Linked DNA regions of Homo sapiens: regions 2 and 3 are each linked to region 1. Evidence: promoter capture Hi-C in 16 types of primary human blood cells and fetal thymus (Javierre and others, 2016). All regions are on one chromosome and are shown on one strand. Each heading gives the region's core, a stretch centred on a gene start or on the middle of the fragment in contact. The rest is flanking DNA. Distances are from core to core; before and after follow the strand shown. Region 1 holds the start of TAL1 (TAL bHLH transcription factor 1, erythroid differentiation factor). Region 2 overlaps LINC00853 (long intergenic non-protein coding RNA 853). Region 3 overlaps STIL (STIL centriolar assembly protein).

What was found. The method cuts DNA at HindIII sites, captures the fragments that hold promoters and counts their contacts. A CHiCAGO score of 5 or more calls a contact.
Region 2: a contact is called between a fragment that was not itself captured here and the fragment with the promoter of TAL1 in region 1, in 2 of 17 cell types (megakaryocytes and erythroblasts). The highest score is 15.3, in megakaryocytes.
Region 3: a fragment that was not itself captured here is called in contact with the fragment with the promoter of TAL1 in region 1 in 1 of 17 cell types (erythroblasts); the score reaches 5.8 in erythroblasts.

Annotation. Positions count from the first base shown.
Region 1 is chr1:47,230,773-47,235,159 of GRCh38, forward strand. TAL1 (TAL bHLH transcription factor 1, erythroid differentiation factor) reads right to left here and starts at 1,453. Exons shown (of 5, transcript NM_001290403.2): 1 at 1,395-1,453. RefSeq lists enhancers at 1-648, 649-1,622. The HindIII fragment of the contact is 19,807 bases long and covers 1-4,387 here.
Region 2 is chr1:47,179,359-47,184,075 of GRCh38, forward strand. It overlaps LINC00853 (long intergenic non-protein coding RNA 853), which reads left to right. Exons shown (of 2, transcript NR_047498.1): 1 at 1-80; 2 at 510-981. PDZK1IP1 (PDZK1 interacting protein 1) reads right to left here. Exons shown (of 4, transcript NM_005764.4): 4 at 4,224-4,685. The coding sequence ends at 4,613. CYP4A22-AS1 (CYP4A22 antisense RNA 1) reads right to left here and starts at 265. Exons shown (of 6, transcript NR_199717.1): 1 at 1-265. RefSeq lists enhancers at 1-264, 1,890-2,034 and a cis regulatory region at 1,953-1,970. The HindIII fragment of the contact is 1,130 bases long and covers 1,436-2,565 here.
Region 3 is chr1:47,293,533-47,298,040 of GRCh38, forward strand. It overlaps STIL (STIL centriolar assembly protein), which reads right to left. Exons shown (of 17, transcript NM_001048166.1): 7 at 2,233-2,316; 8 at 1-12. Among named protein-coding and RNA genes, the nearest start is that of STIL, 18 kb to the right of the region's middle. The HindIII fragment of the contact is 891 bases long and covers 823-1,713 here.

The DNA of each region.
Region 1 (4,387 bases), core at 203-2,702:
AGCAATTACAATAATTGACAAAACAAAATTCTTTCAACCCGAGCTAGGGCCCCACTAACCCGGTCCCTCCCAGAGCCCGGATTCGGCCTCGGTCTCGGATGCGACGGGTATCAGACCCAAGCGGCAACGTCGCTCACCCGAAGAGGGGGCGGGAAAATCTTCCCAGGAGGTGATCCCGAATGTCCCCACCCGAGGCTCGAGGCCTGGTGAATGTGCCCATTGTCCTTTCGGGGCCTCTCCCTTGGAGCCCGGCGGCCGCACCCACGAAACTGACCAGAAATGGATGAAGCCGGAGTGCAGCGGGAACCGAAGCCCGCAGCTACCGGCTCGAAGGCGCCGGCCTCGGCGAGCGCTGCTCAGCTTCAAGCCTGGAGGAGCCTCCCACTCACCAACGAACCCCTCAAACACCTAGGCACAGGCGGGCCTCCGGGCAGAGCAGCCGCCGACCGGGCGCTGTCCGCCCACCCAAGCCAACAACTGGCTCCCGAATACATCATAATTTGGAATAAAATGTGAAATCCCGCTCCCCGCCCCCATGCCGCCGCCCCCACCAGCGCCTCGATCTCTCGCTCGCCCTCCCCCCACTCCCGCCCCCAGCGATTTGCAAACGCACCTCTAAAGGACACAGGCACACAGGCATACAACTCAGTGCGGACAGGACCACACAGGGTCCAGCCCCACAGAAGGGCAGCAAACAAACACCACCTAGCACTGCCCCAGAAGCCGACTTGGTCAGCCCCGCACACTGCCCAACAGGACACAACGAAATCAGTCAAACGCAGCGGCTCACGGACACACAATCCAGCACAGTCGGGATCACACACGCCCGACATAACGACGACACCACCCAAACACAGTCGCAGGGGCCACACACCCCCACACACAGAATCAGATCCCTGCTGAGAACACCAACGGAGCACAATCGTACGCAACGAAGAAAACGCAGAAGGGCCTCGAAGGGTCCACATCTACACACCCCAACCGCGCAGGCACACCACACTCGGACACAGAGCCTGTCGCCAAGAAGACCACACTTAGAAGCAGCCAACGCCGCCCACAGTTCTCATGAACGCACTCTCACAATCCCACCGCATGCACACAACCACGAAGAAGAAATGAAAACCAACCACAGCCTCGCGCATTTCTGTATATTGCGTAAGGAAAAGGGGGAAGGAAGGAAGAGAGTCTCCGAGGCGGGAGGGGCGGCGGCAGCCGGGGCGGGGGCGTCCGTGGAAAATGCCCCCCCACCGCCCCCCCCGGCCATCGAAAGGAACCGAGGGAAAGGGAGCGAAGACCTCTTTTGCGGACGTGGGGAAAAAGAGGAGGAAATTGATGAAGAATTCGGTGGGAGGCCGCGGGTTGCTTTTCCCCTAGAAAAAGGCCAGAATGCTCACGTTTTTCCGCTACGGGGGTACGCGTGTGGCCATTTTGAGGCCCGGTCCTGAGCGGCGGCGGCCCGGCCCCTCCCGCGGCCCCCGCTCCCCCGCCCGCCCCGCGCCCGCCCGGCCCCTCCACCGACGCGCTGTAATCCCACTCACGTTCCAGGCCTCGTTAGCATGGGCCGAGGCGCGCCGGGGCCGTGTGCGCCGCAGAGATAAGGCACTGCCGCGGGTCCGCCCGCCCCCGATAAGCGCCTCGGCCATTATGGGCCAAATGATTCATTTTAATTTGGCAATTTCACCGGAGGGAGTGGGGACTGGTTGAGCGGCGCTAGGACCGGCTCCGGAACGCGCTGCGGGGAGCGTTGGACGCGCTGTCTAGGACCCAGCAGATCCAGCCCCCATCTCTAATCCCAAGGCCTCTCAGGAACCCCAGCTTCCCACAACCTCAGTCCCTTAACCTTTCAGACACCTTTCTTCAGCGACTCTCACCCCAGCACTCTGTCCCTACCTCTGAAGACCACCATGATACCAAAATCGTCACCTCCCAGGGCTTCTTTCTTATTCTTCCTCCAGTGTCCCAGACACCCAGATTTCAATGGGCAGTCTCCCTATCCCAGAAAGCTCCCCAGCCCTTCCCTACCTCTTCACCCCCTTCTAAAATAGAGCCGGTAACTCAAATCCATGGGCTCTACGGCGGCCTGGCAGAACCCCTGTCAATAGGGACATAAAATGCCTATTCTGCTAGGTTTCAGGCTGAGCCCAGAGCCCAGGAACACTGCTCCCCACATGGTATTTAAAAAAAAAAAAAAAGTTTAATCTAGCGACTGTAACACTATTCTAGGCATTCTGCAAATACTAATCTACTCTTCACAAACAGTCCTGAGAAGCTGGATCCTTAATTTACAGAAGAGAAAACTGAGGCACAGAAAGTCAAAGTAACTTTTCGAATGATACATAGCTAGTGCTTGGTGGAGTCTGCCTTGGAAGGAAATTTGACACGGAGTCTTCTCTGCGGCTCAGCTGATGAAGAGGGGCAGCCAAAACCTAGCCAGGGAAAGGGACCTGGGCTCAACTCATTGCAGAGACCAGGGTCTTTACTGTGGGGTAGAAATCTGAGTTCAGTGCCAGCTGGATGATGCGCTCAGCCCACGGAGGGTCTCTGGGTTCATTCTTTCATGGTGGAGTGGAAAGAACACATGTTCGAATTTTAGTCACTGATCTCTGAACCTCAGTTTTCTCATTTGTAAAATGGGGAGATAATGTCGACGTCACAAAGTTATGAGAACTAACTTATATGACCTTTAAAAGGTGGTGGTGAGGATAATAATGTATGGAACGTCACTCAGTCCACAGCCCAGGAAAACATCATATGCACTTGCATGGGAGTTCTGGTTATCATCATAGAGAAAGAAATTAAGACACAGAGAGATGTGACTTAGCCAAAACTTACAGTAACCCAAAGGAAAAGCCAGGACCCAAACTTTGGTGTCCAATTCCCAGTCCACAACTCTACTTTCCATGCCAGGCTGATTTGTCCTTCTAGTGTCTCTGCTTTTGAGCTTTTTTTGGAGCCTGAGAACTGGGGGAAAACCCCTACTCTGGTAACAAACTGAGTCCCAGTCAAAGACTGAGCAGAGAGCATGGCCCCAGTCTGGGATCTGGCTTCTCCTTGGTCATCAGGTTGACCCTCTGAGAAGATACAGTTAATTCAGTGCCGCCTGTCCCCTCTGTTCCTCCTGTGCTCTCTGAAGGAAGTCAGGCTGTCATGGGGATACAGATAACTCTCACAGAATCCCACATCCTAAGAAAAAGTCTAGTTCCCCCCTACCATAAGGCCTTTGCTTGGCTCCATCACTTATTAGAAAATGAGAGTCATATAATTCTGAGTCTGAAACACAACTCTGCCATTCCTGGGCTGTGGGACCCTTAGAGAAGTGATTTCATGTCTCTGAGCCACTGTAAAAACAGGCTAGCCATTCCCATATGGGAGAGCCCAGGTGGGGACTGCTTCTCTGAGAAAATGAGGCCTGGACTGAGATCTAAGAGTGAAATTTGGGGGTGCGAAGAAGGGGGGTGGGGAGAAGCATCAGTATCCAGAACCTTCCAGGTGGGCTGAGGAAACAGCTGGACCAAGGGCTAGAACAGAAGGGTGGTAGGTTCGTGAAAAGAATAGAAAAGTGTCCAGTATGGCTGGAGCATGCTTGTGGACAAGTTAAAAGATTTTTTGACATTTTTTTGTTTGTTTGGTTTGAAGGTGGGGGTGGTACCTTGTATAGAATAAGATTTGCATTTCTAGAAAGTTCTTTGGATGAAGTGTGGAGGGGGAAGGACTCTGGGAGGCCAGTTGTGGAGCCAATGCAGTGGTTAGGGGAAGCGGATTAGAGCTTGGACCACTGTGCTGGCAGAAGAGATGACAAGAGGCAAGTGAAGATGACATGTATTTGGGGTATAAAACTGGGTTTATAATAATTGGATTTGGGCCAGGCATGGTGGCTCATGCCTCTAATCCCAGCACTTTGGGAGGCCCAGGCAGGCGGGTCACGAGGTCAAGAGATCGAGACCATCCTGGCCAACATGATGAAACCCTGTCTCCACTAAAAATACAAAAATTAGCTGGGTGTGGCAGCGCACGCCTGTAGTCTCAGCTACTCAGGAGGCTGAGGCAGGAGAATCACCTGAACCCAGGAGGCAGAGGTTGCAGTGAGCCGAGATCGCGACACTGCACTCCAGCCTGGCGACAGAGCGAGACTCTGTCTCAAACAAACAAACAAAAAAAGAATTGGGTTTGGGGGGATGAGGGAGAGGAAGGAATCCAGGAAAACCCCTGGGTTTCTGGCTGTCCTGCAGAGCTAGTGGTGGTTATTCCTGGAGATGGGGAACCTGGAGGCTGAGGGGACATGGGGAGGGCTTATATATTTGGTTTTGAACTCCTTAAGTTTAGATGCCTTTGAGACACCTGCAGACTGTTGGATTATTTTACAGGGCATTAAATGTCCCCAGCCAGC
Region 2 (4,717 bases), core at 751-3,250, 51 kb before region 1:
ACTGAAGGACTGCCAGGCAGCAGAGTTCCGGAGGGCTCCCAGGACCTTCAACCAGAAAGAGACAGAGCATATGCGCATATGTATGTCTGAGCCCGTGCACGGAGGAGGAGTATGAACAGACACCGCGGGACAGATGGCTGGAGTTTAGTCCCTTCCTTCGGGGCTCTTCACCACTCCTTGGGCTTCCCTTCTCCTGTCCAGCCCTGTCCTGGGTGCACAGAGAGGGAAGTCACTCCATTCCTGCCCTTGAGGAGCTCCCAGACCCAGGGCAGGAGCAGGATGCAGACAAGTAGACAGCACCCTGGGGTGGGTGGAGTGAGTGGGGCAGGTGGGGCGGGTGCAAAGAGAGGGAGGAGCAGGGGCTGAAGTTGCCCGGAGGAAGTGCTGAACCCAGGAGTGGGGAAAGGAGCATCTGGGAAGAAATGGCATCTACGCTGATCATGGAGGGCTTTCTGGCAAGTCTCAGGAGCAATAATAACACGGATGTCATCTCTGTTTCCTCCCAGCAGCCCTGCAAGGAATGTACTATAGAGCCAATTTTACCGGCAAAGGAATGGAAGATCTGAAAGGCTAGGCGATCCCACAAGCATCGAGGAGCAGGCTGGAATTTGAACCAATCGGCATGATTCCCAAGCTCAAGCTTTTGGCCACCCCTGCACTGCCAGGGACAAAAAAAAAAAAAAAAAAAAACCCTGGGAGGAGAGCCAAGCTAGGGAGTCAAGACCCTCCAGCCAGGTCTGGATGGGAGGCAGGTGCCTCCACCCTGGTCCCAGAGCAAGTTCTGCTGGCTTCAGCCACCTGACTTCCCTGTGAAGGTGGGTAGAGGCCAGAGCAGACTGTGTGTGATTCTGGCCCCAGCCCCAGCACCTCTACCCCCACCTTTACTACCCCTAGGCTGCGGGAAGAGGCTTTGCCCAGCAATAGTCCTGATCTAATGGATCCTTGAAGCACAATAAACAGATAGTATTTCTGCATGTGTCACTCTGAGTATGACGGCAGTAATCTTGAAACTCCCCTTGACCACCTGGCACTCTGGAGACGGAACTCCACAGCCTGTTTTCAAAGCCAACTCCTGGCTGGAAGTTCCTCTTCAAGTCTAAATGAAGTAAGCAGTGCTGCAGTCTTCCCTCAACTGTGCAGTTGCTGGGTGGAGGCTTTTCTTTTCTGCCTGAGTTTGGGTATAACCTATAATGTAACCCTATGAAACTTACATGTTTTAGGTGGGAGAGGGGAAAACAAGGTGCAAGCCCTGTTCCAGGAAGAGCAAAAATGTCCTCAACAGTAAGAGGACATTCTGGGCTGAGAGCCAGGGCTTGAGGCAGCCTGCAATCCTGGCAGATAGCTGGTGGAAGGGACCACAGAGAGATGATACCACACACAGAAGTGAGACCAATGAGATCGTGGGAACTGCCCGGCCAAGGGTTGACATCAAGGAAGCTTAGGAGGCAGGGGACAGCTGGGAAGGGGACAACCAAGAGAACCAGCTGGAAACTGAAAAGGGATGCAAGAGAGAAAGAGGAGGTGGGCACTGAGCTCAGGTGGAGGAGGAGAAAGGCAAACAGGAGAGAGAGAGGCAGAGGATGAGACAAAAACAGAGGTGGAGAGACTGAGAAACAGGGAGACAGAGATGGATGGAGGCTGGGAGAGACAAAGAGGAGACAGGCCTGGGCAGGAGAGGTCCTACGTGGGGAGAAAAGGTTGGGAAGAGAGCAGGAAAGAGAGAAGGAGCACAGGTGTCTGGAGGTTCCCACCAGGCCCAGCCCACCCCTCCTGCAGGCTGGGTCTCTCCCTTGTCTGCCAATCACGAAGCTCAGGATCCCCTCCCTCAGGGCTGGGGGTGGAGAGCTCGCCTCCAGCCCCGCCCTAGTCCAGAGGCTCCCCCTCCCCAGGCCCTGGGAGGCTGCCCCTGGGACTGGCTGTGCAGCGATAGATGGTGGGGGCCCAGCTGGTGCGTTATCAGCCTTCTCCAGGAGCGCGCCTGAGCCACTCCGTGGCTGCCAGTCTGAGATTAGGCCCCCGGAGGGTCATTAAGCGCCACCCTGGCCCGGGCCCAGCCTCCTTTCCCTCCCCGATCTGGCCAGGCTGGCAGGTGGGAATGAGCGATAAGGATTGGGGGTCTCAGCAGTTCTGGGGCCAGCAGCTCCCTGCTCCCAGCACTCCCCTCTGGATCAGGGCAGGAACATGGGGTGAGGGTGAAGGGCTGTAAGGTCAGTGCCGGCCCAGCCCCTGCAGGAGCCCCTAGGGTTCCCACTCTCCTAGATCTGCCCATATTGAGCAAGACAGAATGAGAAGGGGGCCAAGGAGGCTCTTGGAGAGGCCTCAGACAGCTGCTGGGGAGCAAGGTGAGCCCAGGCAGAAGCAGGCTTCTCCTGGCAAAACCTCACAGGTGTGAGGGGCTGGGATTCACTTGCTGCAGGGAGACAGGGATGGTGGCTCTGCCTTCTGGCCCTGGCAGGCTGGTGGAGTGACCTGACTCGAACCCACTCCCACCCCCCAGGGACAACTGAGGGCAGAGCTGGGAGGAAATGTGGCCTCGTGCAAGGAGAATCGGATCCGGCAGTCAGAAGCTTCCCACCAGGAGACAGGAAAGGAAGAGGGGACTGTTTGTGCCTTAGCAGAGGCCTGACCCTCTAGGAACCTCTGTCTCTCCTTCAGTGAGTGGAGAAGCTGGGCTGGCTGCTGGCCTGGCTTTGCCCTCTGGTCTAATCAAGGAAGACTTCCCAGAAGAGGAGGAACCTTGGTTGGGTCAAGAAAAAACAATGCGCAGAGTTTAAACTGGCAGAGGTGGGGTGAAAAGGCATGAGTCACAGGCAGCCACGTAAGCAAAAGCCTAGAGTAGAAATCACAAGCCACAGTTCATTAAGCCGAAGCCCAGAGAGGGGAGGTGACTTGTCTCAAGACACGCAGAAAAGCAAGGATAGGCCTGGAGCAAAGCCGCTGCTCCCCGACCCACAGGCCTCTTCCCTCTGCTGCAGGCTGCATCCTAAACCCAATGAGGTGAGAAGAGATGATTCCCATTTAAGATGAGTCTTCCCCAGTGGTACTTGGTGAAGCCTTGGAATAGCAAAACAATGGCCATAACATAAAGCAAGGGGGCTGTGACAGGTTGAGACAAGTGGCAGAGGGAGACCTTTGGGACAAGGTGGATGGCCTCCTACCTTCTGGCCCCACTTCTCTGGATCTGGGAATTATCCTGGATGAGTCTCTCAGGTTATCACCCTGGACAGAGACAGAAGCTGTTCGCATAAGGCCAACAGTCACAGAGGTGAGGGGCCTCCAGGTTCAGCCAGCCAGGCAAGGCATGCCTCCCCTCTCCCCTGCTCCTACTAGGACCCAGTTTCCTGATCCTCCCTTCCCAACCCTGACTCCCACCCCAGGACTGGGCATTGGGAGGGCAGGCATAGGCAAGGACTGGGCTCTCCTCCAGCTCTGCCGTGAGACTGGCCAAATCTTCCACGGAGAGAAAGCTCAGCTCAGAGAGGACAACAGCTTTCCCAAGTTCACACACAAGTTGCCAGAGGACCCAGGACTCAGATCTGGGCTTCCTGAGTCTCAACCCAAGACTGCTTCCTGACACTTCCTATGCCAAAGCCCAGCACGGAGGGGCTACTGGAGGGAGACAGAGCTAGATCTGTGTGAACCCACTGTGACACCTCCAGCACAGAGGCAGAGGGTGAGCGGCGCTGAGCAAGGAAAAGCCCAGAGTCTCAGGGATGAAGGATGTTTGGGGGCGGGGATTTCCAAGAGGGGCGCTACCTGGAGCAAGGGTAGAGTGGGTGAGCTCTCTGGCCCATGGGCCTCTGACATCCTCTTCCTTCCCTACATACAGGAAACTGATCAGCACTAGGGGAACCTAGCTCATATTAGGGTCTGCTCTGCCCTGCCCTGGGAAGCCTTGCCTGGCTGCTCTGGTTGAAGAAAGGGTTTGGCCTGAGGGGACAAAAACCAGCCCATTGGCAGAAATGGGCTCACCTGTCCTGGTCTCCCTGCCTCCCAGTTCTCCCAGGTGTCATCAGACACTCCCATTTGAGGGTGCTTCACTCTCAAACACCAGAAAGGCACCAACCCTCTCTTACCCTCACCCTGGCCACACACTCTCAGCCCCTCCCCAGCCTGGGCCCCCTCGGTCCCAGCTGCCCTGTGGGCACAGGGGCTTCCTGCATAATCCCCCAAAGCCACTACAACAGAGTCGGAAGGTGACTGTCATGATTCAGAAAGCAAGATGGGGACTCACTGGAAGCCTGAGGGGCTGTTGCTGAGCCTCAGCCCCAGAAATACAAAAAGTCTTTATTTCACAGAAATTAGGGCCATTTCCATAGTTATGGGGAAGGACGTGTGAGCAGGATGGGAGGTGCTCAGCTGACTGTCCTCTCCAGAAGGCTCTTCTGAGCTGAGCAGGAGACCCCAGGGCCACAGCCGAGCCCCAACCTAGACACGGTCTGAGCTCCAACCTTGGCTGGCTATACTTCAAGGGCGGGTAGGGCCGGCATGGGGCTGGAGGGAGTCAGCCCACTATTGCAGATTCCACACAAAGAAGGAGGGGGCTTGGGTGGTAGCACTGGACATCCATCCCATGTGCCTGGGAGTCTTGGGGTTGGAGCCACAGAGAAGGTTACATCGGGGTGCTGCGGACCTTGCCTTCCTCCTCGGGCACATTCTCATAGGCATTCTCATGCTCACTGGACCTGAAAGAAGAAGGCATGGGCCTGATGGGTCA
Region 3 (4,508 bases), core at 18-2,517, 63 kb after region 1:
CCAGACAGCCAACTAAAAGAAAAAGATAGAAATTAAAAACCATAGTCACTTACATATATAGCATAATTTACATTCTTCCTAAGATAACAAAGTAGACGTATGGCTTTTATCAGCCATACATTAAAAAGCCTTAGTAATAAGAAATCTAAAAACGTGCTGATAATTAAAAGGAAGAATATATAGACATTTGTATATATATAACTATATTGATATATATAGACAGACATATAGATATATATCGAGAGAGAGAGAGAGAAAGAGAGCAAGCACGCGTATCTCTGTCCTCTTTTACCTGAGATGTGGGAAAGAAAATGGTTAACAGAGATGAAAGCAGTATACTAGAATGAATTAGCTTGGACTGGAAAGAATGGGCTAAGGTAGTACAGACTAATTTGCAGCCTAAAACTACTTCACAGAGTTGCTGAGGATTAAATGCTGTAATATATACAGGTAGTCAGAAAGAGAGAAGGCTCTTAATATTTACTTAAGCATCAACAATCCATTGCCTATATTAGGACTGTAGCAAACTATAAGTAGATTTCATGGTCCAGAGAACATTCATGCATTCTCATTCACTTTGCATGTGCCATTCCCTTACATGGGTTCCCTTCCCCAACAATCTTCCCTTCTACTATCTAAACAATTGAAAGTCTAGCTCAAGTTTGTCTTCTCTAGGAAAATGCTCCCTATCATATCTTTCTTACAAATACTAAGTGTTCACTTTCCATACTGGTCACTTTATAGTAAATCATATACTTTATTTTTCTGTGTATGAATATTTGAATGTTTTATCACCTCACTTTGATTTTAAATTCTTTAAGAAGCTTTAAACCTCAACACATTATCAAGCATAACACTGTATATAATAAGTACTCAATACTGAATGAATATAAATTTCTAAATATTCTGTCTAAATATCATTAACTCAGATGGCTTGAGCCCAGGAGTTCCAGACCAGCCTGGGCAACATGGCGAAAGCCCGCCTCTACAAAATATACAAAACCTAGCCAGGCGTGATGGCCGGTGCCTGTAGTCCTAGCTATTCAGGAGGCTGAGGTGGGAGGATCACCTGAACCCCAGAGATTGAGGCTGCAGTGAGCCATGATTGTGCCACTGCACTCCAGCCTGTGTGACAAAGTGAGACCCTGTCTCAAAACATGTATACATATATAAAAAAAAGTAAACACATAAATATCATTAATTACTACTCTAAAGAGAAGGCCATTAACACTAAAGGAGATTTCTGCAAGATTGACTGACAGTGGATTTTAAATGGTATTATTATGAGCCCTGAGTTCTTTAGGGTGACTTAAGGATGAGTGGTAGTGAGAGAATACTGAAGAAACAGGGCTCTAAGCCTTCACCTTCAACCAGGAGAATTCAACTTATATTTTTTATTTTTTTTTGAGAAGGAGTTTCACTCTTGTTGCCCAAGCTGGAGTGCAATGGCGCAATCTCAGCTCACTGCAACCTCCACCTCCTGGGCTCAAGTGATTCTCCTGCCTCAGCCTGCCAAGTAGCTGGGATTACAGGCACGCACCACCATGCCTGGCTAATTTTTTGTATTTTTAGTAGAAATGGGGTTTCACCATGTTATCCAGGCTGGCCTTGAACTCCTGACCTCGAACTCCTGACCTCAGGTGATCCGCCCACCTCAGCCTCCAAAAGTGCTGGGATTACAGGCGTGAGCCACTGCGCCTGGCCATAGAATTAAGCTTTTATCTGTTTTATATGTTAGAGTTCTTCCTAATATTGGACAAAATCTGGCTGAGCATGATGGTTCACACCTGTAATCCAAGCACTTTGGGAGGCTGAGGCGGGTAAATCACTTGAGGCCACGGGTTCGAGACGAGCCTGGCCAACATGGTAAAACCCCGTCTCTACTAAAAAAGCAAAAATTAGCCAGGCATGGTGATGCACGCCTGTAATCCCAGCTACTTAGGAGGCTGAAGCACGAGAATCACTTGAACCTGGGGGATGGAGATTGCAGTGAGCCGAGATCTCTCCACTGCACTCCAGTCTGGGCACAGAGCAAGACTCCATCTCAAAAAAAAGATTGGGTAAAATCTTATTTTAGCTGATTCTACTAGTAAAATAAGAAAACCTGACAACCACTTATCTTTGTGGCTTTATAAAATGATCTAAATATTTATAGTACAACTGAGTCACATGCTTATCATATACATTTGAACATTTGGCTGATAAGGTTTTCATAAATAATGTAATACTTACATTCCCACCAATGGTAGAGAATAAACCTTGGGATCAGATTCCAACAAAAGTAACAATTTGCGTGTTTCATCCATGGTAAGATATCTAAACAGAAGACATTCATGTGAAAATAACTGAAATTATGTACTTTTTACCTAAAAGACATAATCTAAATGCTGAAGCATACTTTAGAAAGGGGAGATAATTCAAATGAACGTTGTCTTGCACACACAAAAGAAACAGAAACTTTTTACTGACTCAGTAAAAAGACTCTGGTAAGAGGAAGAGATTAAAGAGATTTAATACCTTAAAACTTCCATCTATCAATTAAAAGACATTGAAGATTATACACCTTTTTTAAAAGTTTTGCTCTATAACTTTACTTACAATTTACTTTAATCAAGAGTGTTAACATTAAGGTAGGCAGTTTCAGAACCAAATAGGTTTCCTTGGAAGAACTGAATTCCCTATCACTAGAAAATGTTCATGCATCCAAGTGATTTGACAAGACTGCAACAGATGTGACTTCTAAGTGAAGGAGACTGAATTAGGAGAAGTATGATCAACCTTCCATGTGCCATATTCCTCCAACCACTGTCAAAGGACTTTGGAACCATCATAAAACACAAAAGCTCACTCTTTCCTAAAAGGACATTATACTATATTTATATTTTATTATATTTATTATTGACAGCAAGTTATAAGAATACAAAAAACCAAAGTAGAATTGTTAATTTTATTGTTATGTCTTTCTTCAAAAACAATGCCATTAGTGGGTCAGGCATGGTGGCTCACGCTTACTGTAATCCCAGCACTTTGGGAGGCCGAGGTGGGCAAATCACTTGAGGTGAGGAGTTCGAGACCAGCATGGCCAACATGGCAAAACCCCATCTCTACTGAATATACAAAAAAAAAAATTAGCCAGGCATTGTGGCACACGCCTGTAATCCCAGCTACTCGGGAGGCTGAGGCAGGAGAATGAATCACTTGAACCCAGGAAGCAGAGGTTGCAGTGAGCCGAGATTGCACCACTGCACTTCAGCCTGGGCAACAGAGTGAGACTCCGTCTCAAAAACAGAAAACAAAAACAATGCCATTAGTGATATAAAGCCTTGGCAGTACCACTGATGATATATTTTATTGCTCTAATAACACTAAAACACAAAGACAATACATTTGTCAGGTCTTGTGACAAGAATATTAAGCCTGAGTTGGCGTAAGATTTACAAATCAACAATGACACAGCTGCTTTAAAAGTTCTCCCTCATGTCTTGCCCATCTGATAAATTTCTACTCCTTAAAAGAATTAGTTCAGGCTGGCTGGGCCCAGTGGCTCATGCCTGTAATTCCAACACTTTGGAAGGCTGAGATGGGTGCATCATGAGGTCAGGAGTTCAAGACAAGCCTGGCCAAGATGGTGAAACCCCATCTCTACTAAAAATACAAAAATTAGCCAGGCATGGTGACGGGCGCCTGTAATCCCAGCTACTTGGGAGGCTGAGGCAGGAGAATCACTTGAACCCAGGAGGTGGAGGTTGCTGCAGTGAGCTGAGATCGTGCCACTGCACTCCAGCCTGGCAACAGAGCAAGACTCCATCTCAAAAAAAAAAAAAGAATTAGTTCAGGCTTTCCATGATTTCCCCAGGCATTTTGGACATCCCTCCCCCTACTTTCCCAGCACTGTATATAAACCTCCATTATAACACATCATGTTTACATGTCAACATATTCAATAGATAGTAAGTATAGTTTTTAATCTATTTATTTCCAATGTCTAACATAATGCCTATGCCATAATGGGCCCTAGTAAATATTAGGGTATATAAAGGGCAAATGTCAAATTTTTTTTTAATGATGGGGTCTCACTACATTGTCCTAGCTGGAGAGCAGTGGCTATTCACAGGCACTATTGTAGCTTACTGCAGCCTTGAAATCCTAAGCTCAAGCCACCCTCCTGCCTCACTCTCCCAAGCAGCTGGGATTACAGGTGTGTGTCAATGTACCTGGCATGGCAAATGTCACCAATTTAATAGACGATTCTAGATAGGAAGTGGCAAGGAGAATAGGTGATTGACAGAATACTGAACATCCTGGTTATTACCAGCATGCCCGCCCAGCAGTCACAGATGGATAATTCCAAGAAAGGTAAATTCATGCTATACAAGTAAATGGGGATGGGTACTAAAGAAAACAAATTAATTTTTTTGTTAATTTAAACAAAAAATCCCATGCTCCACTTGAGAAGTACTTTATTAATTAAGAGGATTAAATGTTTCATTTAATTCAAACAATTTTTG